Linked DNA regions of Homo sapiens: regions 1 and 3 are each linked to region 2. Evidence: promoter capture Hi-C in 16 types of primary human blood cells and fetal thymus (Javierre and others, 2016). All regions are on one chromosome and are shown on one strand. The core of a region is centred on a gene start or on the middle of the fragment in contact, and the rest is flanking DNA. Distances in the headings are between cores, read along the strand shown.

Evidence for each region. The method cuts DNA at HindIII sites, captures the fragments that hold promoters and counts their contacts. A CHiCAGO score of 5 or more calls a contact.
Region 1: a fragment that was not itself captured here is called in contact with the fragment with the promoter of PLEKHH1 in region 2 in 3 of 17 cell types (M0 macrophages, M2 macrophages and M1 macrophages); the score reaches 6.3 in M0 macrophages.
Region 3: a contact is called between a fragment that was not itself captured here and the fragment with the promoter of PLEKHH1 in region 2, in 3 of 17 cell types (M1 macrophages, M0 macrophages and M2 macrophages). The highest score is 9.0, in M1 macrophages.

What each region holds. Positions count from the first base shown.
Region 1 is chr14:67,735,660-67,738,359 of GRCh38, reverse strand. It overlaps a transcript of ZFYVE26 not described here. Among named protein-coding and RNA genes, the nearest start is that of RDH12, 35 kb to the right of the region's middle. The HindIII fragment of the contact is 2,027 bases long and covers 281-2,307 here.
Region 2 is chr14:67,532,030-67,534,729 of GRCh38, reverse strand. PLEKHH1 (pleckstrin homology, MyTH4 and FERM domain containing H1) reads right to left here and starts at 1,440. Exons shown (of 29, transcript NM_020715.3): 1 at 1,332-1,440. It also overlaps a transcript of GPHN not described here and a transcript of TMEM229B not described here. RefSeq lists a silencer at 1,347-1,816. The HindIII fragment of the contact is 32,076 bases long and covers 1-2,700 here.
Region 3 is chr14:67,713,926-67,716,625 of GRCh38, reverse strand. All of the region lies in intron 1 of RDH12 (retinol dehydrogenase 12), which reads right to left. It also overlaps a transcript of GPHN not described here and the pseudogene RPL21P9. Among named protein-coding and RNA genes, the nearest start is that of RDH12, 13 kb to the right of the region's middle. The HindIII fragment of the contact is 604 bases long and covers 1,149-1,752 here.

The DNA.
Region 1 (2,700 bases), core at 45-2,544, 200 kb before region 2:
TTAGTATATATAAGTATATTAGTATATAATTATTATATAATCATGTCAGATTGTATAATCATACCACAGATTAGTTTTTCGCCAACTGATGGACTTTTAGGCTATTTCCATTTTTTTGCTAATATGAACAATGCCTCCTCTTTACATACATAGGCTAATGTTACTGCAGATATTAAGAAGCTGAATTGCTGGTAGAAATGGCTCCACCATTTCTTCCACTCATAGCAGCAGTGTATAAAAATATCTATTTTTCTATATTTTTGCCAATATTTGCTAAGCTTTCAAATTTTTGACAATGTGATGGTTTAAAATGGTATAATGGCATCTTGTTTTAATTTGCAGTTCTCTGATCACTGGTCAGGTTAAATATCTTGACTTAGGTACATTGGCCATTTGCGTTTCTTCTGAAAATTTCCTATTTATAACTTTTGCAAAGTTCTCTGTTGGGTTCTGTGTCTTGTTCTTATTGAGAAGTAGAAGTTCTTTATATGATAATAAGTTGAGAGTGGTGACTCACACCTGTAAGCCCAGCACTTTGGGAGGCCAAGGTGGGAGGATCACTTGAGTCCAGGAGTTTGAGATCAGCCTGGGCAATAAAGCGAGACCCCAAGTCGAAAGAAAAATGAATAAAAATATGGGTACTACTCTTTTGTGTGATACATATTATCTATGTAAATATAAGATAGGTCATATATACATATACATCTGCAGCAGATGCTGTGTTGCACCACCCAGATTCCCTCCTATGGTTTGGTTCTGTGTCCCCACCCAAATCTCATCTCAAATTGTAATCCCCATGTGTTGAGGGAGGGACCTGGTGGGAGTTGACTGAATCATGAGGGTGGTTTCCCCCATTGTCTTCTCGTGATAGTGAGAGAGTTCTCATGAGACCTGATGGTTTTAAAAGTGGCAGTTTCCCCTGCACTCTCTCTCTCTCCTGCCACCTTATGAAGATGTGCCTTGCTTCCCTTTCACCTTCCACCATGATTGTAAGTTTCCTGAGGCCTCCCCGGCCATGTGGAAGTATGAGCCAATTAAACCTCTTTTCTTTATAAATTACCCGGTCTTGGGTAGGATCTTTATAGCAGTGTGAGAATAGACTAATATACTCCCTTTAGAAATGAAGCATACAGCTAGGCATAGTGGCTCATGCTTGTAATCCCAGCACTTTGATAGGCCAAGACAGGAAGATTGCTTGAGCCCAGGAATTCAAGGCCAGCATGGGCAACAGAGAGAGACCTTGTCTCTACCGAAAAAAAAAAAAAAAAAAAGAAAAGAAAAAGAAATGAAGCACTTATTCTCCCAGATGCTGGAAATGTACACAGCTGCCAACTCTCAGCTGAGTTTTTATCTAGAACTTGCCCTCACCCAGGTCATGCCCCCTCCCTGGAAGCTGCCCACACCCAATTACTGGTCACTGCGGGTGTTTAAAGACCAACCTCCTTTCCTCAATTCAAGACAGCTCAGCTCCAGAGCTCTCTGTGGAACAGGATCACCTAACCCTTTAGTGTGACTGCATCGCAGATCAACTTCACCCTCTGCCCTGTCCCGCTTCTCTCACTCCCCTATAGATACCAATCCTAACAGTCCTCCTAATAAATTTGCTGTGTGCAAATGTCTGTATCTCGAAGTCCGTTTTCTAGAATACATAACGTAAAACAATTTCAAATATGTTCACCATTATCACTTGACTTTGAACTTTGTTTGAGGTATGCTTTTTGGATGTATTCCTCTTTTCCCATATGCTTTTTGCTTTTCATGTCTTAAGAATGCTATCCCTCTTCCAAGGGCATAAAGATATTCTTCTATATTTTTTTCTAATATTTTCACAACTTTTTTTGCCTTTTAGTCCACATAGTACTCATTTGTATGCATGGTGTGAGGCAAAGAATCTAACTTTATGTTTCATTTGGATAGTTATTTGTCCAGCACCACTTATGACATTGTCTATGTTTTTCTGACTGATTTGAAATGCCTCTTCTACAATATGAAAATATGATAGCGATATCAAAATAGCATATATGAGAATATGATAGCCGTAGAAGAGACGTTTCAATACCCAATACCCAACTACAGTTGAATGCTTCACAGTGAGCATTTGACCCAAGCCAAACCTGGAATTTTTTAAATTCTAAAAATAGGAAATGGCTGCAGGAACTCTTCAATGGTAGAGGGAGAGGAGTCTGGTGTTGCTTGGCGCTTGAGTTCTAGTTATTTCTAAGATACATCTCTGCCCATTCCCACTTTCCAGTTTCAACCCTTCCTTGAGTTTATGAGCAAAATATTGCATGGTTTGGGACTTAAGCTTGCTCAAACTGAGTGTCCATCTTATAACTAAAAGAGACCAAATACACAAGGTATATCCTCCTGAGCTTGGGACGCATGGCAACATTGTATACGAAGTTGAGTTGGACAAGGGCCAAGTGCCACCCAAGGTAATCTGTGGCAGCTAGTCACCACCTAGGAAATCGGTGCTCTGAAACTGTTTGTTTCTTGAGTTTCATATGTCTCTTTGATTTCCTTTTCCTTTAGTTTCCCATTGAAGTGTTATTTTTAGGAAATTAGGACAGTCTCAGCTGAGCCAAAAGAAAAAGATTTTCCACCCCAGGCTAGATTAGCTAAGGGTGTCAGAGGCTAAGAGAAGCCAGGAATAGTGAAGGCAGTGGAACTGGGGCAGTTAGAGAAGCACCTAGGAGGGAA
Region 2 (2,700 bases), core at 191-2,690:
AGAGGCTCCACATTTTTTCAGCTTAGTTGTTAGTTTCAATGAGTTTGGGGCCACAGGCTGCACCCCACAATTGCCCAACTCTGAGCAGGCCCCCTCAGCAGTCTATGGGAAGGTGGTAGAAGTGGACTGAACCATACGTTAGGAATTTAGGAGGCTTGGGTTTCAGTTATGGCTCTTCCACTTTTTAGCTATGTGACCATGGGCATATCACAACAATTTTTTTTTTAACAGACAGGATCATCAGCCTCCCAAGTTAGCTGGGACTACAGGCCCACACCACCACACCCAGCTAATTTTTAAATTTTTATTTATTTGTAGACACAGGGTCTCCCTATGTTGCCCAGGCTGGTCTTGAACTCCTGGCATCAAGCTCTCCTCCTGCCTTGGCTTCCCAAAGTGCTGGGATTACAGGCATAAGCCACTGCAACTGGCCTAAATCACAACTTTTCAGAGTCCCAGCTTCCTCCTTTGGAAAAATGGGGCCAATAATATGCAGAAACACTAATACCGATGTTCTATAAAGCGTTCAGTGATGGTACTAGCCCTATACACAGTGTCTGTCACATAGAAGACAGTCCAAACAGTTTGATGAAGGAACTGATAATTCTCCCACTGAATTTTTTAAATGGTCTTTCAAGTGTTTTACCTGAACCAAGGCTCTGTCTTGGAAGAGTTTTATGAGGTGGATTCATAGTAAAAGCTATGGAGGAGATATCCTGGCAAGCAGAAATCCCACAAGGAGAGGAGTTTCCTTCCAGATGAGGCTCTTCACCGCCTCTGCCACCCCCACTAAGGCCCCTGGTTCCTGGTGACCGAGTCCTCGCTAAGACTCCTAGGACACAATGCTCTGTGTCATTCGGCGCCCAACCTGTTTTCTTTTCTGCTTGAATGACCTGCTCCTAGGAGTCGAGCCTGAGCCATAGGGTCCCAAAGACAACACTCAGAAATCACAGAAGAAATAACCTGAGGTGAGATGGGGAGGGGTGCGGGAAGGGGTGAAAGGGAGCGAGCACCGATAGCAAGGTGGCAGCCTGCACGTCCGCTCCGAGGGCCCTTCCCAGGAGCGGCTGGATCTGACCGATCCCCAAGTCCAGGTACTCCCGGGGGAGGCTCCTCCTGGCCTCGCGGCGCGAGTCCCCTGGGGCGCCCGGCTTCCCAAGCCAGACCCGCGCTCCAGCGCTCCCCGCCGCTGGGAGCTCGCTTCCAGGTAGGGAGGCACCTGCTCCGGATCGTCCTCTGGGCCCGAGGGGCCGTCCCCCGCGCGCAGCCTGACGCCCTCCGCCGCGGCGCAGCCCCAGCCCACCACAGCGGCGGGAGCGCGGGTCGCTCACCTCCAGCGAGCTCGCGGCCGTCCCCGCCGCGCACTGGGCACACGGGCGCCCTCGGGCCGCCGCCGCAGCCGACCTTGCGTCGCTCTCGCCGGAGTCCCGGGCTGCCGCCGGTTCTCCCCTCCCCGGCAGCAGGGGTCGTGGGCTGCGGGGCGGGGCGAGGCTGGAGCGGGAGGGGTGCCCGCGGGCTCGCTGCACAAAGCCCGGCCGAGCCTTGCTGCGCCCCATTCAACGCTCCGCCGGGCGCCCTCCTCCCCTCGGCTCCCCGCCCGCTCCTTAAAGGCAGAGCGCTGGGCTCAGCTCTCCAGGCAGCTCGCGGAGAGGCACAGGAAATGACCTCAGCAGGCTCCAGCCTCCCACTTCTCCGCACCGCTGGGCTCGTCCCTGGGGCGGCAGGGAGGGCGGCGGGGTGTCCCGGGCGCCGGCCCGGAGCTCTCCGAGGAGGCCGCACCAGCTGCCGCAAGGGGTGGCCAGAGCGCCCCGGGGATCTGCTTGACCCCAAATAGCGGGGGACCCTCGCGGGCTGCGGGACAAGACCAGACCGTCTCCGCCAAAGGTTCCAGCATTCTCCTGGCCACCTGTGGGAACTGTAACGTCTGGATATTTGGAACAGAAGTCCATATTTCAGTCTGGCAGACCAAATGTTCTGAGTTGCAATTTGCAGGAGAAAAAGAAAAAATAAGTTACGACAGCCCAGAGAGTAACTTACTTGCTTATTTTCTGGTCTCGCTATGTTGCCCAGGCTGGACTCGAACTCCGGAGCTCAAGTGATCTTCCCGCCTGGGCCTCCAGGCCGGCTTATGTATATGTTATTTTAAAGGAGGGCCCAGGAGGACCCTGGCTGCCAGGCAGTTTGCAGGGCAGTCATCAGCGTGCCCATGTGCTCCTCGTTCTCAGACATTTGCAGATCTCAGATCGCCCAAAGCAATCTCATACCCAGAGGGGTTGGAAAACTCAACATTTGGCTAGGTGAGCCTGGAGTAAAGAAGATGCAAATAGAGACCATTGCAGGGAGGGATCCACACTTCAAAACAGAGCCTTCTTCCTCAACCCTGCAGGCTCTCTGTCAGTGAAGGACTGAACAGAAGCAAAATACCATCAGCGCCTGTTTCTCCAAATGGTCCTTGGAAGACTCATCCCAGGCACCATGAAGAACACCCCCACCCTGGGTTTGAATCTGAATCTCTAACTAAAGTACCCCAGGCCATTCTCACGTAGAAGTTTTGAGAGCCCAGACACTAAGGAAAGCTGGTAGTGCAGGAGGCCAAACGTGAGAATTTAACTGGGCCAATGGGACTTCAATGGCTGAACTTGCAAACAGCTTTATAGCTCGTGGGGATTGGGATAGATTAGCCCCATTTTGTGGGACAAT
Region 3 (2,700 bases), core at 201-2,700, 180 kb before region 2:
AAGTGTGAGCCACCACACTCAGCCTGTAAAATTCTTTAAACTATTACAAATGTTTGAAAATGTTCAGATTAAAATGCAATGGAAGTACACATGCAGACATACACACAAACACGTGTGTACACACACTTTCTGTCATGGAAAATCAAGAAGCGTAACATTTCAAAATGAAAATTTTTTATAAATTGCCATATTCACTTTTTTAAAAACTTTCTAACATAAATGGAATTTTTTTTCAGCTGAAGAAATCTTTTATTGTGTTTAAGGTCCAACTTAAATATATCTCCTCTCTGCAGCTTTCACCTATCCTAATCAATCATTCACTTCTCTTGCTCCCATACACTATATTTGCCTTTTCTGTACAGCAGTCACAGCGGTTTGACTTATAACTTAGTTAGGCAATTTCTTTTTTCTTTTCTTTTTTTTTTTTTTGAGACGGAGTCTCACTCTGTCGTCCAGGCTGGAGTGCAGTGGCGTGATCTCGGCCCACTGCAAGCTCCGCCTCCCAGGTTCACGCCATTCTCCTGCCTCAGTCTCCAGAGTAGCTGGGACTACAGGCACCGGCTACCACCCCCGGCTAATTTTTTTTGTATTTTTAGTAGAGACGGGGTTTCACCATGTTAGCCAGGATGGTCTCTATCTCTTGACCTCGTGATCCGCCCGCCTCGGCCTCCCAAAGTGCTGGGATTACAGGCGTAAGCCACTGCCCCCGGCCTCTAGGCAACTTCTTATCTCATCAGCTCAGGGACAGAAATAAGCTCTACATTTGTGTTCCCCCAGCACATGGAACCAAGGTTTGCATGAAGCAGACATGCAATAAATAGTGGTGAATATGGTTGAGTTTACAGTAATCTCTCCCTGGTTATGAGATTCTAAGATATCCTAATTTAATTATTTGCAACTTCGTGAGTATTGCAAAATTTGGATTCCAATAGAAGTAAATGGTGAGTCACTCCTTCAGAAGATACTTACAAAAAGAACGAACTTGGCATTGGGGACTGAAATAGAGTAAAGTAGAAATGAAACTAAGGGATTTTTGCAATTAAATGTTGGGAAATTTTTTTAAATAAAAGAGGGCCAATAAGCCCAGGCCTTACGCCTGCACTGTGGTGAGGTGCTCAGGATGGCAGGGGGCAAAGCTGTGCAAAGCTTCTGCCAACTCAAGGGCTTACAGCAATCGGTGAAGTCATAGGCATCCAACATCAGGACAAGGACAGATAAAGAAATGCCTCTTAGACAAAATGTTTTGCTATTTTCTGTTTGGAGTAAACCAAATAATATAGAGAATCATTTAAAGAATACTCAGCATGACTTACTGCCCAGCTTATGAAATAAAACATCATCAGAAGTAGATCTGGATATTGTAGGGCCTGAAGTCTATTCAATTTAGGGGGCTCCCCCCCTTTTATTTTTTAACGGCTATTATGCTATGAATTCGTAGGGAATAGGTTCCAAGCAACTTAGGCTTCTTTCCATTGGTTCTCACAAAGTGAGCTTCACAAAGTGGAGAAGGCTGGCACTTCAGGTACTTTTCTCTTTTGCTTCCTTCTTTTTCTGATCCTTTTCCTTTACATGCTTCAGGAAGTTATCTTGGCCCTTAGACTGCTTAATATGCTCAATAAACACATTAATTCTCTCAGCAAGAATCTTGCCTTTAATTTGTTTGTGTCCAAGAACACTGTTGATAGGCTCTTCCAGTTTTGCCGTGGTAACATGTGTGGGGCATTCAGTGAATGCCTTGAGTTGGCAGAAGCTTTGCACAGGTTTGCCTCTGCAATCTTGAGCACCTCACCACAGTGCAGGTGTAAGGCCTGGGCTTATTGGCCCTCTTTTATTTTTAAAAATTGCCTAACATTTAATTTCAAAAATCCCTTAGTCTCTTTTCAACTTATATCCCATTTCAGTCCCTAATACCATGATAACATGTGTGGGGCATTTTTGAACAGTTCCCATTCCCTTGATGTCTGCAACATAACCTTTCTTGTAGATTTGCATGGTTGTGGCCAAAGGAACAACTCCATGTTTTCTAAAAGGCCTAGAGAACATATATTGGTGTCCCTCCTCTTTCCCTTAGTGTTCCTCATTTTGGAGAATAACTGGAAGACGGCAGTTCCTTCTGAAAGGCTAGGGAACTCTTTTTAATAAAAAGAATATAAAACTATGAGTAAATATTAGGTACAAAAATAAAACAAAGCTGGGCACAGAGGCTCACACCTGTAATCCCAGCATTTTGGGAGGCCAAGGCAGGAGGATTTATTGAGGCAAGGAGTTTGAGACCAAGAGCAACATAATCAGATCTCAGCTCTACTAAAAAAATGAAAAAAAAATTAGCTGGCCATGGAGTGCACTCCTACAGTCCCTGCTACTCAAGAGGCTGAGGCAGGAGGAGAACTTGAGCCCTGAAGGTGGAGGCTGCAGGGATCTGTGATCACACCACTGCACTCCAGCCTGGGAGACGGAGCAAGACCCTGTCTCAAAAGTAAAGCAAGAAGTTAATTACAAGAAAAAAGTAAATAGGAAATTACAATTTTTTTAAATCTAATAGTTGCTACTGTGAAAGGAAACATTTTGGGCCCCCAAAATCACTAAGCTAAAGGGAAAATTCAAGCTGGGAACTGTTTAGGGCAAACCTGCCTCCCATTCTATTCAAAGTCATACCTCTCCTCATTAAGATAAATGCATATCTGGTTGCCTCTTTGAAAA